7 separate regions of the Homo sapiens genome follow, and regions 1, 2, 3, 4, 6 and 7 are each linked to region 5. The links are contacts of gene promoters, found by promoter capture Hi-C in blood cells and fetal thymus (Javierre and others, 2016). All regions are on one chromosome and are shown on one strand. Each heading gives the region's core, a stretch centred on a gene start or on the middle of the fragment in contact. The rest is flanking DNA. Distances are from core to core; before and after follow the strand shown. Region 1 overlaps POC1B-DUSP6 (POC1B-DUSP6 readthrough). Region 2 has its middle 13 kb from the start of DUSP6. Region 3 overlaps POC1B-DUSP6 (POC1B-DUSP6 readthrough). Region 4 overlaps LOC105369890 (a long non-coding RNA gene). Region 5 holds the start of RLIG1 (RNA 5'-phosphate and 3'-OH ligase 1). Region 6 overlaps POC1B-DUSP6 (POC1B-DUSP6 readthrough). Region 7 overlaps POC1B-AS1 (POC1B antisense RNA 1).

What was found. Contacts are between HindIII fragments. The CHiCAGO score rates a contact against its expected background, and 5 or more counts as called.
Region 1: a contact is called between a fragment that was not itself captured here and the fragment with the promoter of RLIG1 in region 5, in 3 of 17 cell types (activated CD4 T cells, naive CD8 T cells and M0 macrophages). The highest score is 6.6, in activated CD4 T cells.
Region 2: a fragment that was not itself captured here is called in contact with the fragment with the promoter of RLIG1 in region 5 in 1 of 17 cell types (non-activated CD4 T cells); the score reaches 5.7 in non-activated CD4 T cells.
Region 3: a fragment that was not itself captured here is called in contact with the fragment with the promoter of RLIG1 in region 5 in 5 of 17 cell types (non-activated CD4 T cells, fetal thymus, naive CD4 T cells and 2 more); the score reaches 11.0 in non-activated CD4 T cells.
Region 4: a fragment that was not itself captured here is called in contact with the fragment with the promoter of RLIG1 in region 5 in 4 of 17 cell types (activated CD4 T cells, naive CD8 T cells, non-activated CD4 T cells and 1 more); the score reaches 6.2 in activated CD4 T cells.
Region 6: a fragment that was not itself captured here is called in contact with the fragment with the promoter of RLIG1 in region 5 in 1 of 17 cell types (non-activated CD4 T cells); the score reaches 6.8 in non-activated CD4 T cells.
Region 7: a fragment that was not itself captured here is called in contact with the fragment with the promoter of RLIG1 in region 5 in 13 of 17 cell types (non-activated CD4 T cells, naive CD4 T cells, activated CD4 T cells and 10 more); the score reaches 26.5 in non-activated CD4 T cells.

Annotation. Positions count from the first base shown.
Region 1 is chr12:89,495,901-89,498,600 of GRCh38, forward strand. POC1B-DUSP6 (POC1B-DUSP6 readthrough) reads right to left here. Exons shown (of 11, transcript NR_189589.1): 3 at 1,271-1,442. It overlaps POC1B (POC1 centriolar protein B), which reads right to left. Exons shown (of 12, transcript NM_172240.3): 3 at 1,271-1,442. Among named protein-coding and RNA genes, the nearest start is that of GALNT4, 28 kb to the right of the region's middle. The HindIII fragment of the contact is 642 bases long and covers 987-1,628 here.
Region 2 is chr12:89,338,405-89,341,104 of GRCh38, forward strand. No RefSeq gene overlaps it. Among named protein-coding and RNA genes, the nearest start is that of DUSP6, 13 kb to the right of the region's middle. The HindIII fragment of the contact is 2,292 bases long and covers 133-2,424 here.
Region 3 is chr12:89,462,049-89,464,748 of GRCh38, forward strand. All of the region lies in intron 9 of POC1B-DUSP6 (POC1B-DUSP6 readthrough), which reads right to left. The region is part of intron 9 of POC1B (POC1 centriolar protein B); the gene reads right to left. Among named protein-coding and RNA genes, the nearest start is that of GALNT4, 61 kb to the right of the region's middle. The HindIII fragment of the contact is 1,671 bases long and covers 497-2,167 here.
Region 4 is chr12:89,950,309-89,953,008 of GRCh38, forward strand. All of the region lies in intron 6 of LOC105369890 (a long non-coding RNA gene), which reads left to right. Among named protein-coding and RNA genes, the nearest start is that of LINC02399, 4.0 kb to the left of the region's middle. The HindIII fragment of the contact is 3,706 bases long and covers 1-2,700 here.
Region 5 is chr12:88,034,225-88,036,924 of GRCh38, forward strand. RLIG1 (RNA 5'-phosphate and 3'-OH ligase 1) reads left to right here and starts at 1,312. Exons shown (of 7, transcript NM_001009894.3): 1 at 1,312-1,514. The coding sequence starts at 1,425. It overlaps LOC107984542 (a long non-coding RNA gene), which reads right to left and starts at 1,272. Exons shown (of 3, transcript XR_007063395.1): 1 at 1,190-1,272; 2 at 1-123. The HindIII fragment of the contact is 2,128 bases long and covers 1-1,866 here.
Region 6 is chr12:89,478,276-89,480,975 of GRCh38, forward strand. All of the region lies in intron 4 of POC1B-DUSP6 (POC1B-DUSP6 readthrough), which reads right to left. All of the region lies in intron 4 of POC1B (POC1 centriolar protein B), which reads right to left. Among named protein-coding and RNA genes, the nearest start is that of GALNT4, 45 kb to the right of the region's middle. The HindIII fragment of the contact is 278 bases long and covers 1,112-1,389 here.
Region 7 is chr12:89,527,130-89,529,829 of GRCh38, forward strand. The region is part of intron 1 of POC1B-AS1 (POC1B antisense RNA 1); the gene reads left to right. Among named protein-coding and RNA genes, the nearest start is that of POC1B-GALNT4, 2.2 kb to the left of the region's middle. The HindIII fragment of the contact is 4,188 bases long and covers 1-2,700 here.

The sequences.
Region 1 (2,700 bases), core at 58-2,557, 1.5 Mb after region 5:
ACAGGTGCGTGACACCACGCCTGGCTAACTTTGTATTTTTAGTAGAGACAGGGTTTCACCATGTTGGCCAGGCTGGTTTCAAATTCCTGACCTCAGGTGATCTGCCTGCCTTGGCCTCCCAAAGTGCTGTGATTACAGGCGTGAGCCACTGTGCCCAGCCCTATTTCTATTATTATTACATACTCACTATAATGTAGAATCAATGGAAGCCCTGAGCTTGTTTTTCTGCAACTAGATGGTCCCATCTGGGTTGAAGGGAGACAGTGACAGATCATCAGGCATGAGATTCTCATATGGAGTGTGCAACCTAGATCCCTCGCATGCACAGTTCACAATAGGGTTTGTGCTCCTATGAGAATCTAATGCCGCCGCTGATCCGACAAGAGGCAGAGCTCTGGCCTGGTTCCTAACAGGCCATGGACTGGTACTGGTCAGTGGCCCAGGGGTTGGGAATCTCTGCTCTGAAGTATTTATGGGGGGAAATGATATGTAGGATTTTTTCTAAAAATACTCCAGGGGAAAAAGTGAGGGGAGGTGTAGATGAAACAAGATGGGCAGAATCCTGACAACTGTTGAAGCTGATTGACGGGAATATGAGGCAGGGGAGTGATGCTATTCATTCTATTTTCATGTATGCTTGAAAATTTACATACTTTAAAGCTTAAAAACATTTTTAAAAATCATGGCTCAATAATTACTTAAAATAGATGGGCTATTAGTTAGGGTTTGAAAAGTCTCGTTACAGAGATTTGTTATAACGCATATGACCTTACACAAATTCAACGATTTAAACTTTTGTCAGAAATTTTCTTTAACAAGAAAATTCTGGACCCCGATAATGAGTGATACAAATCAAATCAAAGGCACAGGGTTTTCAATAGGGATCCAAGGGCCCTTGAAGGATCCATGAACGGGCGTTAGGAAGTTAATAAACTGAATTTTTGGTTATACATACTGATGTGTATCATTCTGGGGAGACAGTCTAAAGCTTACCTCAGATCTACAAAGGGATGGATAGCTACCACTACTCCCTCAAAAAAACTTAGACATATTAAGCATATTTCCATGGTAGGAAATAGTTTTCAAAAAGAAGACATAATTTTGAGGAAAAAAATTGTATGAATTAGTTTGACTTTACCACAAGGGCAGCATGCCTTTTATGTGACTGAGAATAACAGTGCAGGCAGCAGTGCATGAGCAGCAGCCAGGGTCAGCTTTCTTTCACATTTCCAAATCCAAAGGATATCAAGTGTTTCTTTGTTTCTCTTACTTATCAGGAATCCAGAGTCTCACGGTTCTGTCTCGTGAGGCAGACGCCAATAAGTTTCCATGTGGAGAAAACTGCACGCTGGTTACAACATCCTTGTGACCCACATATCTGTAAGCTCTAGCATGTGGCTTGAAATTCCATAGCATGAGAAAGGTATCCCAAGAAGCAGTAGCTATCAAGAAATAGAAGAACAAAACCACTGTTTGTTAAAATGCAAACATAGGTGTGTCTCATTACAATGAGCAGCATATCTAATAACAAGGCATCCAGGTAATAGAGCGGCTGGAGGTTGTAAGGCTGCCCAGGTAATAGCCAAATTACTTTTTAAAGGTACTCAAAACTACATCACTAATATGCAAGCTTGGCTGTGTCCTATGTAAGCACACAGCAGGATGACTGGCCCCCGTATTCAATTAGCGCTCAGTAACTTTATTTACTAGAAGGCCGCAGCACAGTGTAACAGAGGGTACACGGGACTAAGAGTCAGTTTTGTTTCTAACTCTGGGTAATGGAAAGCTAGTTAACCTCTGTGTCATGATGTCATGAGGACTGAATGTTTTTCCTGAGAGGGATGGATGAGATAATTTTTCAAACTGTTTATGTGGAAATAATTTCACACTTACAGAAAAGTTACAAGAATAGTACAAATAACACTAATATGCCTTTTACCCAAATCTACTTGTTAATGTTTTGCTTCATTTGGTTTGTAATTTGCTCTGTACTTGTTTCTCCTTGCGCATGAACACACGTAAACCCACACACACAAACACATACGTATTTTTTTGTTCCTGAACCATTTAGGAGTAAGTTATGCAACTCACAGCATCTTTATTCCTAAATACTTCAGTGTGTTTTTCCTAAGATTTAAGATAGTCTCTTAACACACCCATAGCACAGTTAGCAGCTTCATGAAGCTGATTATTAAAGATGCAATATTTTAATATAGCAACTATATTTTATCAACTGATCCAATAATACTTTTATAGCTGGATAAGATGATTTTATTAGTCTCTTTCTGCTCTATAATTTAATGGCATTTGATGATTAATAAAAGAATTAAAAGAATCGTGTGTGTCAGACAATAGTTTAAGGATTTACAAAAAGGAAAAATGCAATCAATGGTGGAAATAACTGACTTGACAAAGAATGAACAAATAAACAAATGAAAGGTAGATCTAACTCTTGCCTAAAAAACAAATTTTATTATATGCATGTAGCCCTAGAATGGCTCCAATAATAGGAAGTAGGTCAATGAGAATCACTAAATCTGGATTGTAGAGTGCTTAGAAAAAAATGTAATGTTATAAATTCGAACACAATTAGTATCACTGTTAGAGAAACATAGGGCCTGGCTATATAAAGTCACTGAAACCTATGTTCTTTTGCCAACATACAAAGTTCATTTGGGCTCAGCCCATGCATTATTTCCA
Region 2 (2,700 bases), core at 29-2,528, 1.3 Mb after region 5:
CGTGCATTTTCTCATTTAATCCGGATAACAACAGTGTGAGGTAAATACCATTATTATTTCCATTTTTTAACAGATGGGAAACTTACTAAGATTAAGCACCTGGCCTAAGGTTACACAGGTAGCTAGTGATGAAGCTTATATTTGAACCTGCAAGAGTCTAAATCCAGAGACTATGTTCTTTATGCTACTTGTTACTTTATATCTTATAATGATTTATGTTCAAGGCTGTTTTCATTTCAAGGCTGAAAGGTCAAATTTGTGTCTAATTTATCTCTTTATGGCACTCAGAACATTCCCTGAATATAATAGGTTGTCTATGCCTTGTTGAATTAATAAATGAATAGTGGCATACATAATTCCATTCCCCAGAGCCTCATCAATTACAATTTATTTGCATTTTTCTAGGTGCTTTACGTCAATTTTCTCATTGAATCCTCCCAACTCCATCAGCTAAGTGTTATTATTATTCTCATTGCACAGGTGAAGAAACCAAGGCTCAGAGAGACTTGTCTGAAATTGAGGATCTACACAGACTAGGCAAGGTCACATGGCTAACAAGTGACAGATCTGGGTTCACATCTGGGAAAACTGAACCCACTGACTGAGCTTGTAACCATCACTCCTCAGCTGAAAATAGGATCAGAACAGAGATAGCCTCATCAAACCATGGGCATAATTTATGGTCCACTCAGCCAGCATTTCTCATTTTAAAAGTTTTAAACCTGAATTGCTTCTGTCAAAGAGTTAGAAGGGACTCAAAAATGTGAAACCTTGGATAGAGATCAGTGGCAATTCCAAAATATCCTTATAGGAAGGGTTTGGGAATAACAATCTCATTGAAATTGGGGGAGGGGGATAAGGAATTTTGAAATTATCGTAAAGCTATATTTTAATATGAAGCTCACTGTTTTGTCAATCAGATTCTATTATTGTGGGCTGCTGATGGATATTATAAGGGCATATTAAAGAAGTAATCACTATTCTGCTGGAGGATATATTAAAAATGTGTATTTCATGAATCTGTATGTATGTATGCCTATCATTTTTCAAAAGTGGTTTAAACATCAATAAAGTGAAAATTCAAATCAATAGATGACACAGAGATTTTTTGAGAATTCAAACATCATCATGACAATAATAAACGTCAGGAAGGTCTTGCAGAGATGTGTGAGTAGCCAGTAAATAGCCGTGCTCAGTGCAGTTGGTTGCACAGGAATAGCTGCAGGAAAAGAGAACGCACCTCGTGCTTAGAAGACCAAGGACTCCGAGTGCAGACGTGATCCAGGAAAAGGATGATGGCATCATTGCCGACCATTCCCTGAAGGGGTCGGTCCAATGTATTGTGGCAGTCACAAAAGCAAGCATCATCAGGAAGGATGTCAAAAACAAAATAGAAAGCACAATCTTATGAGCGTTTGCACACACGCACACACATATACACAGAGAGACACCAGAATTCATTGGCTCCAGAAATACTGAGTATAGTTCCAGCCATCAAACCTGAAAAATGGCATAATGAAACTGGAACTTACTTAAAGGAGGTCCCTTAAAATGATTAGGGTTTGAAAAGAAACCAAAGAGACTTTAAAACACTTCAGCCTAGAAAGACAAAACATAAGAGTTGGCGGATCAGGTTGATAAAATCACAAAGGGTACTGATTAAGTGAACACAGATTCTGACACCAAATCCCAGCAAAGCAGACCTAGAAGCCCTGGTAAAATTTTTAAAAAAGTGCTTTTAGGACTATTTATATTTTCAAGTGCTACTTTATAGGGCAAGTAACAAACTAGAAAAAAAATCATAACTCTAAAAGTCTATAGTTGTGAGCCCATGATAGTTATGGTGCAGTTATACCTACACTATATGCTCAGCCTTTTGATGTCCATCTTTGGAAAGACATCTAGCAAGCTCCCTTTAATGCTGTTGTTCTTTGAATGCCCTAAGAGAGGAGATGCTAGATTAAATGTTGGTTTACTACACATGGCAGATCTGGTAATTCCCAAACAGGACAATCAAAAGAATCACCTGAGGGCCATTTATAAAAAACCAGATTCCCAGGCTTCATTTCCAAAAATTCTGAATCAGTAAGTCCGGGGCTTAGCAACTCTAAGAGAAAATCCTTTCCATAGATGAATCCAAGGTATAAGTTGATTGGCTGAAATGGAATCATGTCCCACCCCTGAAACAATCACTGAAACCAGAAAATGAGGCCTTTTTTGGCCTGGGCTGGGTTATATACCCTTCCCTATGATGGGAATGGAGTTTTCTCCAGAAAAGAAGAAGGTAGATGACTAACATTCAGTGCCCCCTACTTCCTGAGAAACAGAACCTCAGTTATATTGGTACAAAAGTAATAGCAGTTTTTGCAATGATTGTAATGGCAAAAAACACAATTACTTTTGCACCAAACTAATATTAGGGGAAGCTTGTGTCCAACTGAAAGTCTGTATCCCCAGCCTCTCTAGCTATGGCCATGTGGCTAATTCCAGCCATTAAGAACATGGAGTACAAGTCTGCTGTAGGATTTCCAGCAGGCATCTTTAAGAGAATTGACTCAAGGAAGTAAACCTTTTTTCTTTTTCTCTTTCCTTCTTTCGGTGACAGAATGTATGACTGGACAGGGAATCTCTATCTTGTGATCTTTAAGATCAAAGACAGAAGAAGCCTGAATCTCAAATGATCTCATAAAATTGTCCTAC
Region 3 (2,700 bases), core at 82-2,581, 1.4 Mb after region 5:
CGTAGAGTCAGCACCTGTCATTAAAAAAAATCCTTGACCTACAAGTTGGGAAACAAGTCCTGATGTAATTAACAGTATTTAACTGCGTAAGTTGCTGCCACATAAGTTAAATAGAGCTGGAAGTTCTTACTAAGTAACATTTATAGTCCTCTCCATAAAGAAAATATGCTGAGGGGGTGATATGGTTAAATTCTTTGCTAGCTAACTCTCAGGAATACTAACAGTACCTTGTAGCTCCTGATATTTATTAAAGGGAAGAATATGTTAATAATTAGAGCTGCCTTGAAATGAAGTGGGCTGCCTATGAGAGGCCAAGTTCTCCATGGCTGAACAAGGGTATATAACTGGGACTAATGAATGAGGTAAAGGTTAGCCTGTATGACCTCAAAGGTACCATCCCACATCCCCCATTGAGGTTCTCTGTGTCCATGATACTGAGGAGTCCACGAACATAAAACCTCTACTAATAAATTCCATAAGCCTTCACTAGACTACAAGCTTCTAAAGAGCAAGGAGTATGCCCATCTTGTTCACTGCTGCATACTCTAAAGCTAGTACAACGTCCAGCACACAGATACTTTAATATCTGTTAACAGGATAAAATGTAATTTTGTTTATATTGAAGCATTACATCAAAGTGGTTAAAAACACAGAATGGAACCAGAGTGCCTGGGTTGAAATTCTACTGCTGCCACTTACTAACTTTAAGATTTAACTAACATAGACCTCAATTTCTCATGGGATAATAGTGGTACTTATTTCACCGAGATTTTAGGAATATTAACTTAATTTGTATAAAACACTTAGAACAGTCTTGTATAACTGTTAGACTTTATCATCATGTAATGAACATTTACTGAGGCCTGAAACAGTATAAACATATACCCCAGTTAGAAGTAGAATACAAAATGGATAGACAAGTGGTCATTTTAAAAAATCATAAATGGTGATGTTTTCAACCTTATTAGAAGATTGAGATAAAAACCCAATCTCAGACTTAAAAACTTAAATTGATCACTTGTACTTTTCAACAATGAATCATGGTCAGACTATCACAAAATATTATTATATAAATATTTGGTTAAGGTAAAGGACATTTTCCTTCCTGCTAAATATCATACAGAATTTCATATGCAATTTATATGTTAAGGTAATCTAAAATGGCCATAAAAAACTGAAAGCCATCAGAACATTATTTTATTAAAAAAATCTTTTTAACCAATTATAATCCCTGCTTACAATATTCTGCAATTCTCCTAGAATAACTATTTTGATGCTTTACTGTCATTAAGAGCTATCGCCATCGCTTAGAGTGGCTCTACTGTCTTCTCATCAAAATGTGTAAGAAAGAAGGGAACTGCTGCTCCGGAGAAAAATATCACACACACACACACACTGAAGGAAAGTCTGGTTTTGTCTAGGGGCAGGACAATGCAATCCAACTCATGACAGTCTGAAGAAGATAAAGTCAGCATGAACTAGTGATGTGCTATAGCACAACATGGGTAGGGTCAAGATACCTTGTGTAAAAACTGGGCTTCTTTCCCATCAAAAAAAAGAGAGAGAGGTACTGTTCTCATGTTTTTAATTAAGATGGAGTGCCTAGGCCAGGAGTACTACGAAGGATCTGTAGTTAGATAAGTAGGAAGAACCCGGGAGGGGGCTATTTCACATAGAGAGAATTTGATATTTCATGCCTTCTTTCATGTGGCCTCCTTCTCTCATTTATTTTAAAAGTAATATGGCTATCACCCCCTCTATCCATGTAGGAATTAGTAATTTATACATTTAGTCAGCTGGTACCCAAGATCTAAGACTCTGCAGGATTCCCCACCTTCAAACAAGTGAAGCGCTTAAGGCTAGCAAAGGGGTGGCTTTTGCAAAAGGCCAAACTATTTTACTCAGCAGATTGAGATTATGCAATTCAGATGAGTCTCATAGAAAACATAATACAAATCATAAAAATGTTATCTCGTTTCAAACTCAGAAATAAAACACTCATGGTCACTGCAAACAGAGAAAGAAAAATTCATCAGTTCACTTAGATACCATTTATTCTACATATTTTAATAAGATGTTTATTTTCCTTAAATCCTAATACTGACCTCAAAAAAAGATTTCTTAGTTTTAAAATATTTCCCAAGTAACTGCATGTAAATTTGCCTAAAGCTTTGAAAAAAACTTAATCTACTGAATTTAGTATTTCAAAGTAAAGTTTACTAATCATAAATGAACACAGCACAACTTCTATTCTGACTATTCCATTCTGTGTGAAAGTTTTGAACTAAGTAGTCTTTGGCTTAGTGAGGGATCCATATTTATTAATTTGAAGTAGAGTCTTTAAAACACAATTTGGTACTTAACAATTATTTATTCATAATACTAAAGTTGTTCCCTGTCTAGAAAATTTCATAACCTTGACTTTTTTATAAGAGTTTTTTTTTTTTTTTTTTTTTTGAGACGGAGTCTTGCCCTGTTGCCCAGGCTGGAGTGCACTGACATGATCTCGGCTCACTACAACCTCCGCCTCCCAGGTTCAAGCGATTCTACTGCCTCAGCCTCCTGAGTAGCTGGGATTATAGGCACGCGCCACCACACCCAGCAAATTTTTGTATTTTTAGTAGAGACGGGATTTCACCATGTTGGTCAGGCTAGTCTCGAACTCCTGACATCATTAGCCGCCCACCTCGGCCTTCCAAA
Region 4 (2,700 bases), core at 112-2,611, 1.9 Mb after region 5:
AAAATTTTACATTTAGTTTTAAAAACCATTATAGCCACCTTAAAAGTACATTGTGATACTAATTTTACAGATTCTTCCAAACTCAGTTTATCAGCCATCCCTGATAAGCCACTTAGGTCTCTCAGTCAAATGGTCCAGTGGAATCCTGTGGAGCTCTTAGAACGTTTGTAATTATGCAATTAATGATCATAATACTTAAAGTTTAATGTTCATGTTCTCTGCCAGTTTTTAGAGTGAGACAAGCACAATGCCTTGTTCACTGGCCCATCTCTAGAGCCTGGCATGGTAGCTGGCACACAGTGAAAGCTCAGTAGACACCTTTGGCTGAGATATAAAAAGACCAAGGCTTTCTGACTTTTGCTCAATTGTACACAAGTATTGAAACCTCAGCCAGGGGCTTTTCACTAAACACTCTGCCTGAGATGTTGTTTTGTCTTAAGAATTCAGAGTACATAGACATTCTATCCTCTTGGGTATTAATCACATTTCAGTAATCTAAAAAAGAGAAATAGTATTTTCCCTCTACTTTAAAGATGCAAAAAAAGAGTTTAGTGTCTTGCCTGAAGTCACACATGCTCTGTAATAATAAATAGGTTGATGATGATAACAATGGTAATGACTTACAAAAACATGGCAGGACTGGACTCCTAGCTTCCAGCTGCACGCTCTTTAGACAAAGATTTCCCAAACTTTTCCTTACCATATTTGACTGATTTAAAAAATATATATGTAAAATTCTACCATAATTGTTTTTACATTTGTCAATTTTTTTTCTTTTTTTGCCCTCTCTTTGAGGGCAACAACTTTATCTTTTCTCTATTTTCTCATGTTGGATTCTTTCACTTACATGCCAATTCAGTAAATGTGTGCTAAATGAATCCTGTTGCCAACATCCTTATGACTGCATGTGCTGGTTAGTATCTTTCTTCTTTTACTTGTGTCAGAATAGTGTAGGTTATCCTGTGATAACAACTCTAAAATTTCAGGTTATTTCTCATTCATGGTGTCAGGGAGAGCTTTGCTTATCACTGTCACATACGGAGTAAGGCTGAAGGAGACTCTGTCATTTTATGACACTGCCATCTAATGACGTCAGGCTTCAGGGTTCACCCCAGCAGGGGATGAGAAAGAGCTGGCAAGTCAAACACAAGCCATAGAAGCCTTAGTCCAGAGTGTCATTCACATGCCTTTGGGCAAAATGAGTCACATGGCAGCATCTAACTTCAAGGGAACATGGAAATGTAATCTCCTTTCTAACCAAAAGTAAATAATTAGAAATTGGTGGACATTAACAATGCCTATCATACAACCATCATCTATGGAGTCAGGCTTTGTGAAAGAAAGAAGGTAGATGCAGATAGGAAGCCAAAGGGGGAAAAAAAAGAGAGAAGATCTGGGAGGGGGAAAGATGGATAGGGAAAGGAGAGAGGAATAGCTCAACTGCTATTCTGACAAGATTAGCTCCATTTCCAAAGGAGAACTAAGCCCTTAAATAAACCAGTCTTGTCTTACCTGTGCCTCCGGATCATGCACATGACTCATTAGTGAGTTGATTATATTTTACCATTGTTGTTCATATTTTGTCGATGTTCTTATACCATTGTGGGTCATGGTTCATTGGGACAGACAATTTTTAAGGTTTCCTGGATTGTCTTTCATGCATGAGGTATAGAACTATAAAGATTGCTGCCTTCAACTTGAGGTAGGTGTGACAAAGAAATAAAACTAAGAAGTAGAGGTGTGTTTGCCATTGGAATGCGTCATTACTGTCTTCCTCATCTTTCTTTCACTAAGTAAAGTTTCTAACTATACTCCTTCCTTGCTGGGGTTGAATACCACAGAGGAAAGAGTTGTGAATATCTTATTTATCATTGTATTCTCAGAGTCTACAAGTACCAGGCAAATAGGTAGTGCTCAGTAGATAACTGCTCATTGGTGGCTTGAAAGGGGCAGCTTAGCAGGCCCAGTTATAGCATTTTTTTTTTTTTTTTTTTTTTTTTTTTTGAGACGGAGTCTCGCTCTGTTGCCCAGGCTGGAGTGCAGTGGCGGGATCTCGGGTCATTGCAAGCTCCACCTCCCGGGTTCACGCCATTCTCCTGCCTCAGCCTCCCAAGTAGCTGGGACTACAGGCGCCCGCCACTACGCCCGGCTAATTTTTTGTATTTTTAGTAGAGACGGGGTTTCACCGTTTTTAGCCGGGATGGTCTCGATCTCCTGACCTCGTGATCCGCCCGCCTCGGCCTCCCAAAGTGCTGGGATTACAGGCGTGAGCCACCGCGCCCGGCCGTATAGCATTTGTAATTAAAGGTTTATTTCCCAAAGTGGGCTCTTTGGGGAAGGGAATTGCAGAACTACTGAAGTTACCTTTCATCTGATGAGTTGTGCTGTAGGCAAGTTAAATAGGGAGGCTGTTTTTAATCTTTGAGTTGGGCCTTGGCAAGATTTGCTCAGTTGTTTTCTTTTCAGTTGGTAGTTTGGAAGTCCCAGCAGTATAGCTTATGGCTGACAGTCAATTAGTTGTGAATTTATTTTTAATCTTCAGCAAATGTCCCTTGTGAACAAACAAAGGGTGCATGATAATTACCATCAACTACTGTCTCTTCAACTCCCCTGTGTGCTTGGCAAAAGTACTGTGCAAAACAGACAAAATATAGTTCTAGTGTAAGGGATCTGACAGAGCAAATAAGGATCATTAACTTT
Region 5 (2,700 bases), core at 62-2,561:
ACTGGCACTCGACTATAATATGCTAAAAAGTTTCTGGTTCCAACAGCACACAGCCAGCATCAGGTGTTTTCTTTTTTGATAAATGCAGGCGGGGTGTGATGTGGGAGAACATTTTGTGTTTTCCTGTGAGAAAAAGATAGTAGAAAAGAAAGTAAACACTTTGAAATGGCAAATCTCTTTCTTCCTCCCTCCCCTCTGAATCCAGTAATCAAAAAACTGTGAACTTTTTTTAAATTTTATTTTTTTTCACTGTCAGTATTCAATATAACTGTGAACTTTTTAAAGGAAGATGTTTTATTCTTTGAGAACCCCCTTACTAGTTAGATACCTCTAAGTGAGATATAGTTGTTTAATTTTTCCAAGGGCTAAGTCAGTAACATGCTGGACAGTTGAGTACATGCAGATAAGACAAAGAAATGAGACCTGGGCCTAGTCCAAGCCCATAAAGGATGGCAGTAAAGTCAAAATTCCCCTACAACTTCAGGCTAGGAACTACTACATTCAATGAGATGGAAAGGCTACTATTCCTAAATATTTAGTATTTATTTTATTTAGTCATTGTCCATCTTATCACTTACCCTCAAAATATTCTTTTGAGCAGTAAGTTAAGGCTGTTTTTAGCTCGCAGTTGATTGACTACCATTACTCAAGCCATTTGGGCTGTTGGAGCTCACCTTTAATTAAACAAGATTCTTATGAAAAACTTGAGAATGAAATCTGGTTGTAGGTATTCCTGTACTTTTGGATTAGTCTAAGGCTGAAATTTCGCACTCACTCCGAAAAGAACATCAGAATCATTTCGACCATGCTATGCTGCACAATAAGGAGTAGTTCAAACGACAACTTTTTTTGATCCCAGGTGTTTTATTATAGGGTTTTCTGATAGTCTTACCGGAAAGGAAGTTTTCATTCTGCTTGGGAATCTGGGGATGTCTCTAGCCATTTCTAAACTTCTACAGTGCTTCCCCCACGAACTAAAGATAACAGGCAAGCAGTTTCCATTGGAACTGTGTTAAATCGACATCTGAAATGTTCATTGCTTATAATTTGATCTTATTTAATTTCCCAAAAAATCATTAGTTACTAGGTATTGCTAAGTACCCACGTTCGGGAAACGCATCTTTTTTTTTTTTTTTTCACGGTTATTAAAACCGAGGGTGGGGGGCGGAGGACGCACGTGGGAACCCACCAGGCGCCTCAGCTTCTGCACTACAACTCCCAGAAGGCGCCGCGGCCAGGAAGCCGCTTCTGGACGGGCGTTCCCGCCCCTCGCTGGGCTTGGTAGTTGGGGCGCAGCCGCGGTGGCTGGGCGCGGAGTGTGCGTGGCCTGAGCCGTGCGGGTGACTGCTTCAGGGCTTCTCCGCGACTGGACCGGGCGCCGCTCGAAAGCACGCCCTCCATTCGCACTGCTTGTTGGGCTCATCATGAAGCGCTTGGGCTCCGTGCAGCGGAAAATGCCGTGTGTGTTTGTGACGGAGGTGAAAGAGGAGCCTTCCTCCAAAAGGGAGCATCAGGTACGGAGGAGCGCCGGGCAGGCTTGGCGGCCCGCGTGGGCTCCTCCCCGCGGCGCTGGCTCAGTGCGAACCCGGCGAGGGCGGCTGGGCGCTTTAGAACTGCCCTGCAGGCCAGGAACCTCTGTAGGTTTCCCTGGGGAGGTCTGGGGTGGGAGTTCCGTACGCCCTGAGCTCCAGGTTCTTGTACTTTTCTTAGTTGTGAGGGAGGGAATTTGCGAAAGAATTTTCCTTATCAGGAGATTCAAACTTGTCCTCGCAAGGAAATGGATAACTCACATCCACAGCATGTCCCTTCCTTTTCAGGTCAGCACCTTTTGGGGAAACCCCCTAATCAGGTAATTGCCACAGTCCAAGCTTTACTACTTTTCAAGAGTGCAGTAAGAAAGGGTGGATATTAGAAGACTTGCTTTACCTGTTCTGTCCGAACCAGTGGCGGTGTTGACAGTAGCCTAATTAGGTCACTGAAGTTCACACCTCATATTACCAGTAATTACTTAATTTATTCTAACTTTGGTGTTCTCAAGGTTTTCTGTTGCAGCAACGTGTTTTCCATAGTGTGCCCTCGGTAAATGCTAGTGAGTAACCTATATTTGGGTAATTTTTTCATATTGTACTATAAAACGTTGTAGTCTTTGATCAGTAGAATCCCCAGTGATTAGTTGGGTGCTTCCCAACTTTGCTGATTTCAAACAAAACCAACATGTCCATTGGAAATCCACCTCACTTGAGTTTCATCATTGGCACTGGCTTTCTCGTCTTCTGGACTAAAACTTGTTTAAGGCAAAGATTGCCCTGTTATCTTTAGTCCCAGCTTCTAGGACCTGGCACGTGGTAGGCACTGGATAAATATTTGTTGAATTAAAGAATGAACCCTGGAATCATTTCATGCCAGTTTTCCATTCACCTTGATGCTTTTTACCTTATAGCATCTGATCTTTTCCTGCTTTCTAGTGCTGTCACAGCTGTTACAGTTAATATTTCATGTCCTGCTCATTGCACCACCTAACTGGTCTTACTTGCCACTCAGACTGATCATCACCATGTTCTTTCCTCGTCAGAATACCACAGTTATTACTCAATGTTTGTAGCAGTAATTGGCTTTTTTTTTTAGCTGTAACAAATGTAATCCATATGAAACATTATCATCTGTTTTAGTATTTCACTCTACTGTGATTTTCAACTTCGT
Region 6 (2,700 bases), core at 1-2,500, 1.4 Mb after region 5:
ATCTGGCTAATTTATGTATTTTTAGTAGAGATGGGGTTTCGCCATGTTGGCTAGGCTGGTCTTGAACTCCTGGCCTCAAGTGATCCACCCGCCTCAGCCTCCCAAAGTGTTAGGATTACAGGCGTTAAACACCACGCCTGGCCCCACATCCACATTTATACCTCAGTGCTCCACGCTGGCTTCCCTAATAGAATATAAGCAAGAAGAGGCAACTCACATCTGTCTCACTCAATGCTCTATCCCCAGACACAGTGCCTGGCACTGAGTAGGTCCTTAGTAAATGTTTAGGAAATTAAAAAAAAAAGTTTTAAGGGAATTTAAACTAACTTAATATTATATATAGCCAATGTAAGCTGAGAAAAATCTTTGCAATTCGTTGCACAACAATGTGAATATACCTAATGCCACAGAACTGTATACATAAAAATGGTTAAAATGGTAAATTTTGTTATATATATTTTACCACAATTTCACAAAATCTTTTCAATTCAGATGGTCAAAAGATCACTTTGTAATCCTATCAACAACTGAAAATTATAGGCAGATATTTACTCCCAAAAAATCAATGCTGGAAAAGCAACAGACTCGGAAAAGTTCTCTACTACATTAACTTCTACTTATTTTTTATTAAGAACACTATAAAGAAATGTAAGTTATCCCACAATACGTGCATTGTTTTTAAAAACAAAGGGCTATACTAATTTTAACTTTTAGAAAAATTCTTTTGTAAGTAAAAAGATATTTCTCACCTACATACATGTATTTCAAATGATGTTTTCTTCATCATATGTTTAAAAGTTGAGAAATACAGAAAATTTTAAAAGTCCAGATCTTGTCACTCAAACACAATTACACTTAATATCTTGTGTATAATAGATACCTCATCTTTTGTTCATGCATAGGTCTTTTATAATATAACCACTGCATTCCATTTCCCCATGTAAACATATTTTCATGCCATAACTTGCATATAGACTCCCTTTTTACTGGTTACATCATAATCTAACTATATTTAACTAGGTTTTTTATTTGAAATAAAAATTGGAAAAATCGGTTATTTCTAATTTCTCATCATTTCAAATTATACTGAAAGCACCACCTTTGAATACAAAGCTTTTTCATGTGATGGCAAAAAAGTATTTATTTTGGACACATTTTTGGTTGTAGAATCACTGCAACAAAGATGCCTGACATATTTTGCAAATAGACTTATAAAAAGACTATACTATTTACATTTTAAAAGCATGAATGTATTTCCAAATATATGGTATACCTTATTTATTTAAATTAACCTTTGTTAAATTAGATTATAACAAAGGTTAGTCTAGAGAAACTACCTATTCACCTCCTCTTACACTAATGGGCACCATCTCTGTGCGACACTGAATAAGCTTGGGCTCCAAGAACAAACTCATAGAAAGTACTGGGCACCGAGATAGACACAGAATTTTAATTACTTAAGTCCATGGCATACATTTAAAATTCAAATACTAAAGGCAGAAACAATTGCTCTACTGATCCTCTACATTCATTTAAGTACACTATCCATGCACTGGGAGGAAAAGCAGTACCATTTGGATTATTTTAAATATCTAGTTGTTTAATTCATCTAAATTTTTTTGGTAAAATATTCAACTTTATATTTTTCCAAATATAAATCTAGTTATCTTAACTACATATTAAATAGACCATATATTTCCCCACTGATTGGAAATGCCACATTTATTGTAAGTTCTCATATACACATGTATCTGCTTCTGGGCTTTATATGACCTCTTTTCTTAATCCTGTACCATTATCACCATATTTTAATTACTATGGTTTTATATTATGTTTTGAAAACTGGTTGGACAAGTTTCTTCTTTCGTTTTTTTTTTTTGAGACAAGGTCTCACTCCATTAGTCAGGCTGAAGTGCAGTGGCACCGTCTCAACTTACCGCAGCATAGGCCTCCCAGGCTCAGGTGATCCTCCCACCTTAACCTCCAAAGTAGCTGGGACTACAGGTGCATGCCACCATGCCCAGATAATTTTTGTATTTTTTGTAGAGATGGGGTTTTGCCAGGCTGCCCAGGCTGGTCTCAAACTCCTGGACTCAAGCAATCCACTCACTTCTTGCAAGAGACTGATAAGTTATAAAGCTAATTTATAATTCTTTTTTTTTTTTTTATAGAGTCTCACTCTGCTGCCAGTCTGGAGTACGGTGGCATGATCTCGGCTCACTGCAACCTCTGCCTCCAAGGTTCACACGATTCTTGTGTCTCAGCCTCCCGAGTAGCTGGGAATACATGTGTGCGCCACCATGCCTGGCTAATTTTTGTATTTTTTTTTTTTTTTTTTTTTTTTGAGACGGAGTCTCACTGTCGCCCAGGCTGGAGTGCAGTGGCAAGATCTCGGCTCACTGCAGGCTCCGCCCCCTGGGGTTCACGCCATTCTCTTGCCTCAGCCTCCTGAGTAGCTGGGACTACAGGCGCCCGCCACCTCACCCGGCTAATTTTTTGTATTTTTAGTAGAGATGGAGTTTCACCATGTTAGCCAGGATGGTCTCGATCTCCTGACCTTGTGATCTGCCCGCCTTGGCCTCCCAAAATGCTGGGATTACAGGCATGAGCCACCACGCCCAGCCTAATTTTTGTATTTTTAATAGAGATGGGGTTTTGCCATGTTGGCCAGGCTGGTCTCAAACTCCTGGCCTCAAGTGA
Region 7 (2,700 bases), core at 61-2,560, 1.5 Mb after region 5:
TGGCCTTGAGGGACACAATGATGACTAAGATATTTCCCCTACCTTCAAGAACTCAGCAATCTAGGGTTGGTGAGTCTCATGCTTTAGCATTTGTAATGTTGATTTGGGGGCTCCATTTCCAGAGATGCTGAATCAACATATACAAGGTGGGATCCAGGGCCCTTCTGATGTAACAAGCTCCATAGATGATTACTATGGGAGTCTCAGCTGTCTATGTTGAGAAACACTGCATTAGTCTAGGAGATGATATGTTAAGAGTGTTGATATCAGCAACTTGTCAGCAAACTGTTGCAGGACTCTTAGTTTTGCTACATATTACCAGTTTAGGCTTGATTTATTTTAAAAGCCTGCCATGTTTAAAACTAATGCTGGATACTGGTGGGAATGTAAAATGATGTAGCTCTGTGAAAAAGTTTGTCAGTTCCTAAAAAGTTAAACATACAATTACCTTATAATCCAGCAATTTCACTGCTAGGTATATCCCATAAGTATTGAAAGCAGAGACTCCAACAGATGCCAGTGTTCAAAGCAAGCATTATTTACAATAGCCAAAAAGTGGATACAATCCTAGTATCCAACAGATGAATGGATAAACAAAATGTATGTGATATATACATATAAGGAAATATTATCCTGCCATAAAAAGAAATGAAATTGTGATACAAGCTATAACATGGATGAACCTTGAAAACATTTTGCTAAGTGAATAAGCCAAACACAAATGAGCATATATTGTATGATTCCATTCATATGAGGTACCTAGAATAGGTGAATTCATAAGGACAGAAAGTAGAATAGAGGTTACTAGGGCTGGGGGTAAGGGAGACTGGGGAGTTACTGTTTAATGGGTGCAGAGTTTCTGTTTGGGATGATGAAGTTCTGGAAATAGATAGTGGTGATGTTTGCACAACATTGTGAATGTACTTAATGCCAGTGAATTGTACACCTAAAAAATGGGTAAAATGGTAAATTTCATTACAGGTATTTCACCCCAATAATAAAATAATAATGCCAGAAGCTGAAGAGTAATCAGGACCTCAGGATTACTCATAGGTATGTTACGTCTAATATTGGGCACAGGAGAAGCAGAAAAGGGAAGAAGTTGGAGATTTAGAAACTAGCTCACAAGAAGAAAAAATATAGATTTTTATTTAAGTGTTTTAGTAAAAGTTTAGCTTTTACTTTTTTTCTCAATTATCAAGAAACACATGTTTTAAATTTAAAAGATGGGAGGGAAACTACATATTAATCCTATTACCTAAAGTTGATCTTAAAAAATTTGTCACCTACTGATATGGTTTGGATTTGTGTCCCCACCCAACTGTCATGTAGAATTGTAATCCCCAGTGTTGGAGGAGGGGGCTGGTGGGAGGTGATTGGATCATGGGGGTGGATTTCTCCCTTGCTGTTCTGAGTGAGTTATCACGAGATCTGGTTGTTTAAAAGTGTGTAGCACTTCCCCCTTTGCTCTCTTCCTCCTGCTCCAGCCATGGAGCAGCCATGCTCTCTTCCCCTTTGCCTTCCACCATGTTTGTAAGTTTCCTGTGGCCTCCCCAGCCATACTTCCTGTACAGCCTGCAGAACCATGAGCCAATTAAACCCGCTTTTTTTGTAAATTACCCAGTCGCAGGTAGTTCTTCATAGCAATGTGAGAACGGACTAATATACCTACCTATGTTTTCACTACATGCCAGGACTTTTCTAAGTACCTTACAAATTTTGACATTTAGTGATCATAACGATCTTATTAGAGATGTGCTATTATTACCATTTCCGTTTTATAGATGAGTAAATTGATATGCAAAGACATTAAGTTACTTGCCCAAGGCACACTGCTAACTAGGAAGTGGCAGAGTTGAGATTTTTAGACACTCGCAGTCTGCCTCCAGAATCCACTCTCTCTTTTTTTTTTTTTTTTTTGAGACGGAGTCTCACTCTGTCGCCCAGACTGGAATGCAGTGGCGCGATCTCGGCTCACTGCAAGCTGCTCCGCCTCCCAGGTTCACGCCATTCCCCTGCCTCAGCCTCCCGAGCAGCTGGGACTACAGGCGCCCGCCACCAAGCCCGGCTAATTTTTTTTGTATTTTTTTTTTAATAGAGACTGGTTTTCACCGTGTTAGCCAGGATGGTCTCAATATCCTAACCTCGTGATCCGCCTGTCTCGGCCTCCCAAAGTGCTGGGATTACAGGTGTGAGCCACCTCACCTGGCCCAGAATCCACTCTCTTAATCACTGTCATGACTTTTGTGTGATTGCAAGTGTTATGTAAATGTATAAAACATTGCATTCTTGCCAAGGTTTATAATAATAAGTTTTACAAAATGAAAGTAATATCTCCTTTATTTTCATTCCACTGTCCTCATTTATTACTCTAAACTGCCCTTCCCATTGTTCTTTTCCATAGTATTTGATTTTGTTCTTTTCGGCTTTTCTTCACCTTTGCAAATAGCAAAAGCTCAGAGGTAGACAATTGGAAATGTGGTCAAAGTTGGGGAAGTTTTTTCTAACCTCAAGCCTAATTCCACTTGCTACAATGATTATTTAGACCTCTCTGGACTGCAACCTAATCATTTATGTGGGTGGGAGCCACAAGCAGGATCAGTATTTAAAAACCTACAAGGTTTTACTGGAGGCCGGGTACTAGCTAGGACAAACTGACCTCTAATTAGCCCTTCTTATACAGTTCCCCCTAAAACAGAA